Regions from separate parts of the Homo sapiens genome. Here region 1 is linked to region 2. Evidence: promoter capture Hi-C in human tissues and cell types (Jung and others, 2019). All regions are on one chromosome and are shown on one strand. Each heading gives the region's core, a stretch centred on a gene start or on the middle of the fragment in contact. The rest is flanking DNA. Distances are from core to core; before and after follow the strand shown.

The links. Contacts are between HindIII fragments. The study calls those that stand out against the background at their distance.
Region 1: a contact is called between a fragment that was not itself captured here and the fragment with the promoter of ASIC1 in region 2, in 1 of the 25 tissues and cell types used here (IMR-90 fibroblasts).

What each region holds. Positions count from the first base shown.
Region 1 is chr12:49,830,538-49,834,684 of GRCh38, forward strand. The region is part of intron 2 of BCDIN3D-AS1 (BCDIN3D antisense RNA 1); the gene reads left to right. Among named protein-coding and RNA genes, the nearest start is that of BCDIN3D-AS1, 4.1 kb to the left of the region's middle. RefSeq lists an enhancer at 1,269-1,563. The HindIII fragment of the contact is 4,299 bases long and covers 1-3,725 here.
Region 2 is chr12:50,055,035-50,059,302 of GRCh38, forward strand. ASIC1 (acid sensing ion channel subunit 1) reads left to right here and starts at 2,562. Exons shown (of 12, transcript NM_001095.4): 1 at 2,562-2,882; 2 at 3,717-4,094. The coding sequence starts at 3,733. RefSeq lists silencers at 2,365-2,524, 2,595-2,764. The HindIII fragment of the contact is 14,217 bases long and covers 1-4,268 here.

The DNA of each region.
Region 1 (4,147 bases), core at 326-2,825, 230 kb before region 2:
TTCTGGTGCAAATATTTTCATAGACATGTTTTCATTTCTCCTTTTCACCTTATTTCTTGATGATAGTGGCATCTTCGGAAGCCTACAGCATTGTGAATTCTTATTCAATCATCTAACATTGAATAGGGATCAGTGGGCTAGTTCTGGGATTACAACAAAAAGTAGACATGGTCCTTTCCTCAAAGGGCTTGAAAGTCCAATAAAACTCCATGTACCTGTTGTATTCCTAATATTGCCTTGTATTCCTAATTCTGCCTTGAGGTAGAAAACCTTAAAAGTCTGCCAGGCATTTCTAACTACTTTTGGATGTTTCCAAATAACTGAATTATTGGAAGTAAACAGAACATCAAGATGATAATTTACTTTCCTTTTTTTTTTTTTTTTTTTTGAGACAGAGTCTTGCTCTGTCACCCAGACTGGAGTGTAGCAGCACAATCTCGGCTCACTGCAAGGTCTGCCTTCCAAGAGGCAATTCTCTTGCCTCTTGCAATTCTCAAGCAATTCTCCTGCCTCACCCTCCCAAGTAGCTGAGATTACAGGCGTGCGCCACCACACCCAGCTAATTTTTGTATTTTTAGTAGAAATGAGGTTTCACCAAGTTGTCCAGGCTGGTCTTGAACTCCTGACCTCAAGTGATCTGCCCACTTCAGCCTCCCAAAGTGCTGGGATTACAGGTGTGAGCCTCTGTGCCCAGCCAATATTTTACTTTTCATTTAGATGTTTACTCTTGTTTAATAAACAGCCAGAACATCTGTATTTGTCAGAGCAAGTACCTGGCTCTCTCCTTCCTTAAAGGCTATTGTGCACTTGATAATTTCAGCATTCAGATTTTGGCAGATTCTCTATGCTTCACAAACCTTCATCCTCACTGACAGGGGTTGAAAGAAGTGTAGCTACTATTGCTTCAAGATCCCTTTCAGTCTTTTGATAAGGCTTAAGGCACTTTCATTCCTTAGTGCTATTATTTGCATAAATTAAAAATTACACAGAAGTCCCAAAGTTTGTTCTTCACTCTTATGATATACCACTAATCATATATTGTTATTTACTTGAGTCGTCTGTGTAACAAAACAGGCTAGGCCTCTTAGGTCTCTGTTAGCTGCAAGCTGTTACTACTGGTTTAGTAACAAACCAGTTTGGTGGTATTGTCTAACTATGCATGTAGTGCTGGTGCCTGATAGATGGATTCTCAGAGAGAATCACCTCGTCACTGCTAACATCAGTACTTTGAATGGGGTTCCCTGCTTTAATACTGTGTGGTCATTCATTTAATGTTGGAGCATCTTCAATTCTCAGAGGTTGAAACTATAGCCATTTAGCCATTGGTTGATAAGCTGACTCTAGTTTAGAACTCCTGGCAACAGGAGATAGTCAGGTTGGTAACTAGCCTCTCAAAACATTTTTTCTTTTTTTTTTTCCAGATAGGGTCTTGCTGTGTCACCCAGATTGGAGTGCAGTGGTGTGATCACAGCTCACTGCAGCCTTGACCTCTAGGCTCAAGTGAGCCCCTACCAAGCAGCTGGGACTACAAGTGCGCACCACCATACCCAGCTAATTTTTTCATTTTTTGTAGAGACAGGGTCTCACTGTATTGCTCAGGCTGGTCTTGAACTCCTGAGATCAAGCGATCCTCCCACTGTGGCCTCCCAAAGTGCTGGGATTATAGATGTGAGCTACCATGCCTGGCCTCAAAACATTTTTGTAATCTGGCTGTTTTCCAGTTGGATGGACTCTGAGTGCAATCTCAATGTCTTTCCTGATCAGTAAGAGGAAGAAAGGAGCTGTTGTATAATCTTTGGTCCACTTGCTATATAGGAATAGATCTTTACTGCTACATATACATAATTCTGTACGGAACAGTCATGTTCCTTGGATTCTGACAGCATCGCCAATATGTGCTTTGAAACCTCCTACCTGGCACAGATATGATGAATCTACTCATATCCTTGAACCTCTTTTTCATCACTTTTCATCATTCAAACATTTTTATTGAATCTATATGCTAAGCTCTGTATATAAAGTATTAGATAACTTGTACAGAGTTCATGTGGGGTATGATAAACAATGAGACTGGAAAGGTAAGCAGTGGGTAGATCATCCTTTATCCTAAGAGCAGTGTAGCCTTTGAATGGTTTTAAGCAGGAGAGTAGCATAATCAGATTTGCATTTTAGATCCATGTGGTTGCAGTGAGGAGGATAGAGAGAGCAAGACTGAAGTCAGGGGGGCCAGGCAAGGTTTTTGTAGTACCTGAGGAGAAAAACGAGAAATGATGTGGTCTGGACTAGGAAAGTGATAGTGGTGATGGAGAGGACGTAGAAATGCCCAGGGGGCATCCAAGTAGAAACATCTCTCCAACTCGTCAGAACTTCCCAACTGTGTGCCTCAGGAAGAGTTTACGGTGGTGCTGCATAATGGGCTTCACAATTCTCAGGGCAGCACAAGCTTCCTGAGTCAGAGAGCAATCTTGGTTATGCCAGATTGCATCATCCAGCATATAAAACACCATCATTTACTATGTGTGTACTGACATGGAAAAGGTTGGGAAGCACTGATGTAGGCTGTGGGATAAATAATTCTGAAGCTCAGGAGAGGAATCAGGATGATAGATAAGAGATTTGTGAGTCCTCAGAACGTTGGTGGTTACTGAAGTCATGGAGTTGAGGAGATCATGCAAGGAGAGAAAAGAAAGGCAGGAACAGAACCCCAAGGAACATCAACATTAGAGGGGGGTCTCCAGAGAGGGAGAAAGAAAACTGAATGAATGCTGTCACCAGAACCCAAGAAAGGGATTTCCAAAAAAAAAGACCAAATACAGTCGGTCCTTCTTATTGGTGGCTTCCACATCCATGCACTCAATCAATCTCAGATCAGAAAAAATAAAAGAATAAAAACTACATCTCTCTGAAGACTAGATCAGAAAAAAAAATAACTACAGCAATAAAAATACAAAATTTTAAAAATTTAGTGTTAACTATTTACATAGTATTTACATGATATTACATATTATAAGTAATCTAGAGATGATTTAAAGTATATAGGAGAATACCCCTAGGTCATTTGCAAATACTATACTATTTTATGTAAGGGACTTAAGCATCCTTTGATTTTTGTATCCTTGTGGGTCCTGGAACCAATTCCCCATGAATAGGAAGGGATGATTTTTTGGCCCCGATGTTGCTGAGTCAAGTTGGATCAGGACAGAGACATCCCCACTGACTCTGGCCACATGTCATTGGAGACTTTGATAAAACCAGACTTTATTTGTTTATTTAAAATAGAGATGGGGTCTCACTCCATTGCCCAGGCTGTTCTCGAACTCCTGGGCTCAAGCAGTCCTCCCCTCTTGGCCTTCCAAAGTGTTAGGATTACAGGCGTGAGCCACCACGCCTGACCTGGCAAAACCAGATTCTGAAGGATTGAGAAAAATTTACAAAGTAAGGAATGGAGACAGGAGATGTTTAAAACTTTTTGGCTGGGCGCGGTGTCCCATGCCTGTAATTCCAGCACTTTGGGAGGACGAGGTGGGTGGATCACCTGAGGTCAGGAATTCAAGACCGGCCTGGCCTACATGTGAAACCCCGTCTCTACTAAAAATACAAAAATTAGCTGTGTGCGGTGGCATGTGCCTGTAATCCCAGCTACTCAGGAGGCTGAGGCAGGAGAATCGCTTGAGCCTGGGAGGTGGAGGTTGCAGTGAGCCAATTGCGCCATTGCACTCCAGCCTGGGTGATAGAGTGAGACTCTGTCTCAAAAACAAAACAAAAACACAAACAACAACAAAAAAACTTTTCTAAGATTTTGGCTATGCTGTGAGGGAAAAATTAGGCAGATAGATGGGTGGTACAGTAAGAGTTATTTTAGAAAACACTGGCTAATTTTAAAAATTATTCATTTAAGATTAGTTTTTATAAAATGTAATATGTCCATATGGTTTAATAATCAAATAATGCAGAAGCAATTATTTGCTGCATTCCTTACCTCCAGCAATGAGCCATTTTAACTTTTTGGCTGATTCTTCTATATGGCTAAATATGCTTATACTGCCATTCCTTTTTTTTTTTTTTTTTTTTTTTTAAGATAGAGTCTCACTCTGCTGTCCAGGCTGGAGTGCAATGGCACAATCTCGGCTCACTGCAACCTCTGCTT
Region 2 (4,268 bases), core at 1,312-3,811:
GGCAGGGTTTCACCATGTTGGCCAGGTTGGTCTCCTGACCTCAGGTGATCCACTCACCTCGGCCTCCCAAAGTGCTGGGATTGCAGGCGTGAGCCACCACGCCTGGCTGGCATTGCAGTTTTATCTTATTATTTTTATTTTTTGAAATGGAGTTTCGCTCTTGTCTCCCCGGCTAGAGTGCAATAGCACAATCTCGGCTCACTGCAACCTCCGCCTCCCAGGTTCAAATGATTCTCCTGCCTCAGCCTCTCGAGTAGCTGGGATTACAGGTGCCCGCCACCACGCCCAGCTACTTTTTGTATTTTTAGTAGAGATGGGTTTCACCATGTTGGCCAGGTTGGTCTCAAACTCCTGACCTCAGGCGATCCACCCTCCTCTGCCTCCCAAAGTGCTGGGATTACAGGAGTGAGCCACCGCGCCCAGCTGGCATTGCAGTTTTAAAAGCTCCCCAGGTGATTCGAATGTGCAGCCTGGGTTAAGAACCAGTGCCTTAGATTCTGCCCTGGTTTGGCTGCACTGGTGGTTTTACCACTAGATCCAAATGCTAATACTAATAATAGTTATTTACTTATTGGGATTTACTAGGTACATGCCAATGTACTAAGCACTTTCCATGCGTTAGCTCATGTAATCCTCGAAAAATCCTGTGAAATAAATATTATCTCTGCCTTACAGATGAGGAAACCGAGGTCCAGAGAGGTCAAGGGGCCTGCCTATGCTAATGAATGGCAGGGCCAGGTCTGGAAGCTGATTCTCCTGATTCATACCTTCTGTCTTCCCCCAGACTCCTCCTGAGGCTGCTCCTTGGCCTCAATCAGTCCTCGCCTGCCTCCACCTCACCTCATCACCTTCCCTCCACCCCCGCTGCTCCCTCAGTAACATCCCAGGTGACTGAAGCAATTGCAGCCATTTGAAGAGGCTCCACGTGTCAGTCAGCCTGCGAGCCGCGGGGAGGTGGGGAAATTACAGATGCTCCAAAATAGTGTTCCCCTCCCCCTGAGGATATTTGGAATTCAGGAATCAGACTCTGCCTGATGCTTCCTCAGGTCTCTGGGACCCTCCCAGGTGATTTCCCACTCTCAAATGCCCCCCACGAGTTGATTCTAAGTATCTGGGAGAGGGCTGCCACCCAGTGGCTGCCCGGGGGCATAGCAACCCTCCAGCACTGCCTGGTACCGCTGAACAGCTCCCCAAGACCTGAATGGAAGATCCTCCCTTCCTTTTGGCAGCTCCGTGTCCAGTCCCCTAGTAAATGGATCTCGACCTCCCTCCTCCACAATCTTAAGTCCACTCTCCCACTAGGGACCTCCAGACCCCTTCTCTGGTTTCCTAGATGTCCACTACTCCCAACTTCTCATCCAACTTCTTTCCAATGTGCCATCCCCTTCTCGTTACAGGTTTTCTTCTAACTTAAAGCCCGGCACCATGTCCTAGGAATACACCTCTCACCATCCTTCTCCCCGAGCCGCACCAGCCTGCAAGTAGAGCGAAGGAGCCACTAGAGACAGAACTCTGGTCCCCCGCACCCTCCTCCTCATCATCTGACACCATCAGACCTCAACAGCCTCTGTGCTAAGAGCCCCTAATGAGCATCAGCAAATTAACAACTTCCCCTTGATTGCTCCTTCTCTGTTAATTGGATAGGGAGGGCCCCCCTCCCCAAGGCCTCTCAGAGAAGAGGAGGGAGGCAGGGAAGGAGAAAGGTGAGAGCCACAGGAGCAGCCCCCAGGCCTGCGTTCTGTGCTGAGACTTCTGCTCCATCCCTGAGCATAGCTCCCCGTTCCAACCCTTCCTCACCCTGTCCCCTTCACTCCCTTTGCCTCCTTCCTTCTGTCCAAATTCCCTTGACCTCTGGCTATTTTTCCTTCCTTTTCTCTGCTCCTTCTTTGGAGATTTGGCAGTAAGGGGTTGCGACCATGCCCCCCACAAGCCCAAAGCTACAAGGATGGGATCTGAGTGGTCAAGGCTGCGTGTTGGCTCACATATGTGCACGTGTATATGTGTCACATGCAGGTGGGAGCAGGGATAAGAGCAGGTGAGTGCTTGCCATGTGGGTCAGGCCCCCGGGATACGTGGACATCTGTTGCGGGGGGGTGTGGTTGTGAATGGTGTGGTGTGACTCTGGTCGGTATGTGTGTCTGTCTCCATATGGGCTAAGTGCTTGAATTAGTCAAGTGTGACTCGGAGCGTGTGTGTGTATGTGTGTGTGTACGCGCGTGTGTGCCACCAGAGGAAGCAGCAGCAAGAGGCAGGAGCATCGATCCGAAGGAGACAGCGCGGGGAGAGGGACGCTAGGGGCAGACACCCTCCCTCCTGCGCGCACACACGCGCGCGCGCACACACACCACACACAGAGTCATACACACAAGCCATAGGGCCTCGCAGGCAGGGAGACGGCTCCGGGACTGGAGAGAGGCAGCGCCGCCGAAAGCGGCCGCGAGGAGGGGCGAGGCGGCGCGGGGAGCCCTGGGTCCCGCTCCCGGATCCGGGGCCCCGCGCGCACACCAGCCCAGAGACAGCCTCGCAGACACTCGTAGGCGCGCACGCGCACCCTCTCCCCTCCCCCTCCCCTCCCGCCGCCTCCCGGCCGGACGATGGATCCCTGCAGATCCCAGGGCTGAGAGCACCGCGCACCGCGCCGAGCCCGGGCAGACCGAGCCGAGGCGAGCGAGCCAGCGAGCCAGCGCGCGCGGGCGGGCGGACAGATCGGAGCCGAGCGGGGCCGGGCGGGGCGCTCCCTGCAGGGCTCTGCGCGGCGTGCCGCGGCGGCCGCGGGCTCCGGCCCCGGGCCATGAGCCCCTCCGCGACTCGGCGCTGAGCCCGCCACCGGTCCAGCGCCCCAGGACCCGCCGCCGGCTGCCGGCTTGCCGAAGCCCCCTCAGGTGGGTTTCCGATACCCCTGCCTTTGGCCGCGAGGCTCCTCGGTACCCCGAAGCCGGGACTCTCCTCCCTCTGGATTTCCCTTGCTGCTGGGGCGGCTCGGTGGCTGGGGAGGGGGGCGGGGGCCGAGCTGGGGATCTGACTGCGACGAGAAGCTGGACTGGGGGGGGCTGCGTCCGGGGCGGGGACAGCTCGCTGTCATAGGGAACCGCGCCCCCCCTCCATACATCCACCTCGGGCAGCCCGCCACCCCCCACTCCCAACATACACACAGCCTGCGCTTATGTGAGAACTGGAGACACCCGCAGGTGAGGACTCAGGCTGGGCCCCTCCCTAGATGTAGCCACCTCCCTGGGGGTTTTCTGGCCCCAGTTTAGCCCTTAGGACCACAGCCCCGTCCAGGGAATACCCGTGACCAGGACAGGAGCTCCTTACCCCGGGGTCAGCCCATCTGGGTGAGTTTTCATCTCCAGGATGGGGTGGATATTCTTGTCCCAGAGTGACCCCACATCTGGAGGGAACTCCTGCGCCTGCCTATGGGTGCATCAGGACTTCCCCCTCAACCTCGGATGACTATATCTGGGGTCTCCCCGGGCCTGGGAAGCTTCTCTGGGGAGCATTCTCTTGGCCTGACCTGACCCCCTGTGCCTCTGTATTTGGAGGAACCCTGGATGTGTCCCTTGGTCAGCCACCTCTGGGCTTGCAAAGCAGGGAAGTCTTCTGCCCGAGGAGTGGTGACCTCTGGAGATGAGGATTCTGGATGGGCACATGTGGAGGGGCTCCATGTGTACTTTCATCCCAGGACAATGATAGACTGTCCCTCCCTCCTCCCCCAGGATCCCCTCAACAAGGATGGAACTGAAGGCCGAGGAGGAGGAGGTGGGTGGCGTCCAGCCGGTGAGCATCCAGGCCTTCGCCAGCAGCTCCACACTGCACGGCCTGGCCCACATCTTCTCCTACGAGCGGCTGTCTCTGAAGCGGGCACTGTGGGCCCTGTGCTTCCTGGGCTCCCTGGCTGTGCTGCTGTGTGTGTGCACGGAGCGTGTGCAGTACTACTTCCACTACCACCATGTCACCAAGCTCGACGAGGTGGCTGCCTCTCAGCTTACCTTCCCTGCTGTCACGCTGTGCAACCTCAACGAGTTCCGCTTTAGCCAAGTCTCCAAGAATGACCTGTATCATGCTGGGGAGCTGCTGGCCCTGCTCAACAACAGGTGGGTGGCTCCCACCCTCCCTCAGCCCTGCTCCTGGAGTTGCTTGAGTTCCAGTCAGGATGTCTGCCTCCCTGACCCACCATAGAGCCCAGCCAACCCTGCCCTTTAACCCACCCCCACCCCCAAACCTGCCACTCACAGCAGAGGAGTTAGGGTGCTGCTGAGCACCCAGTT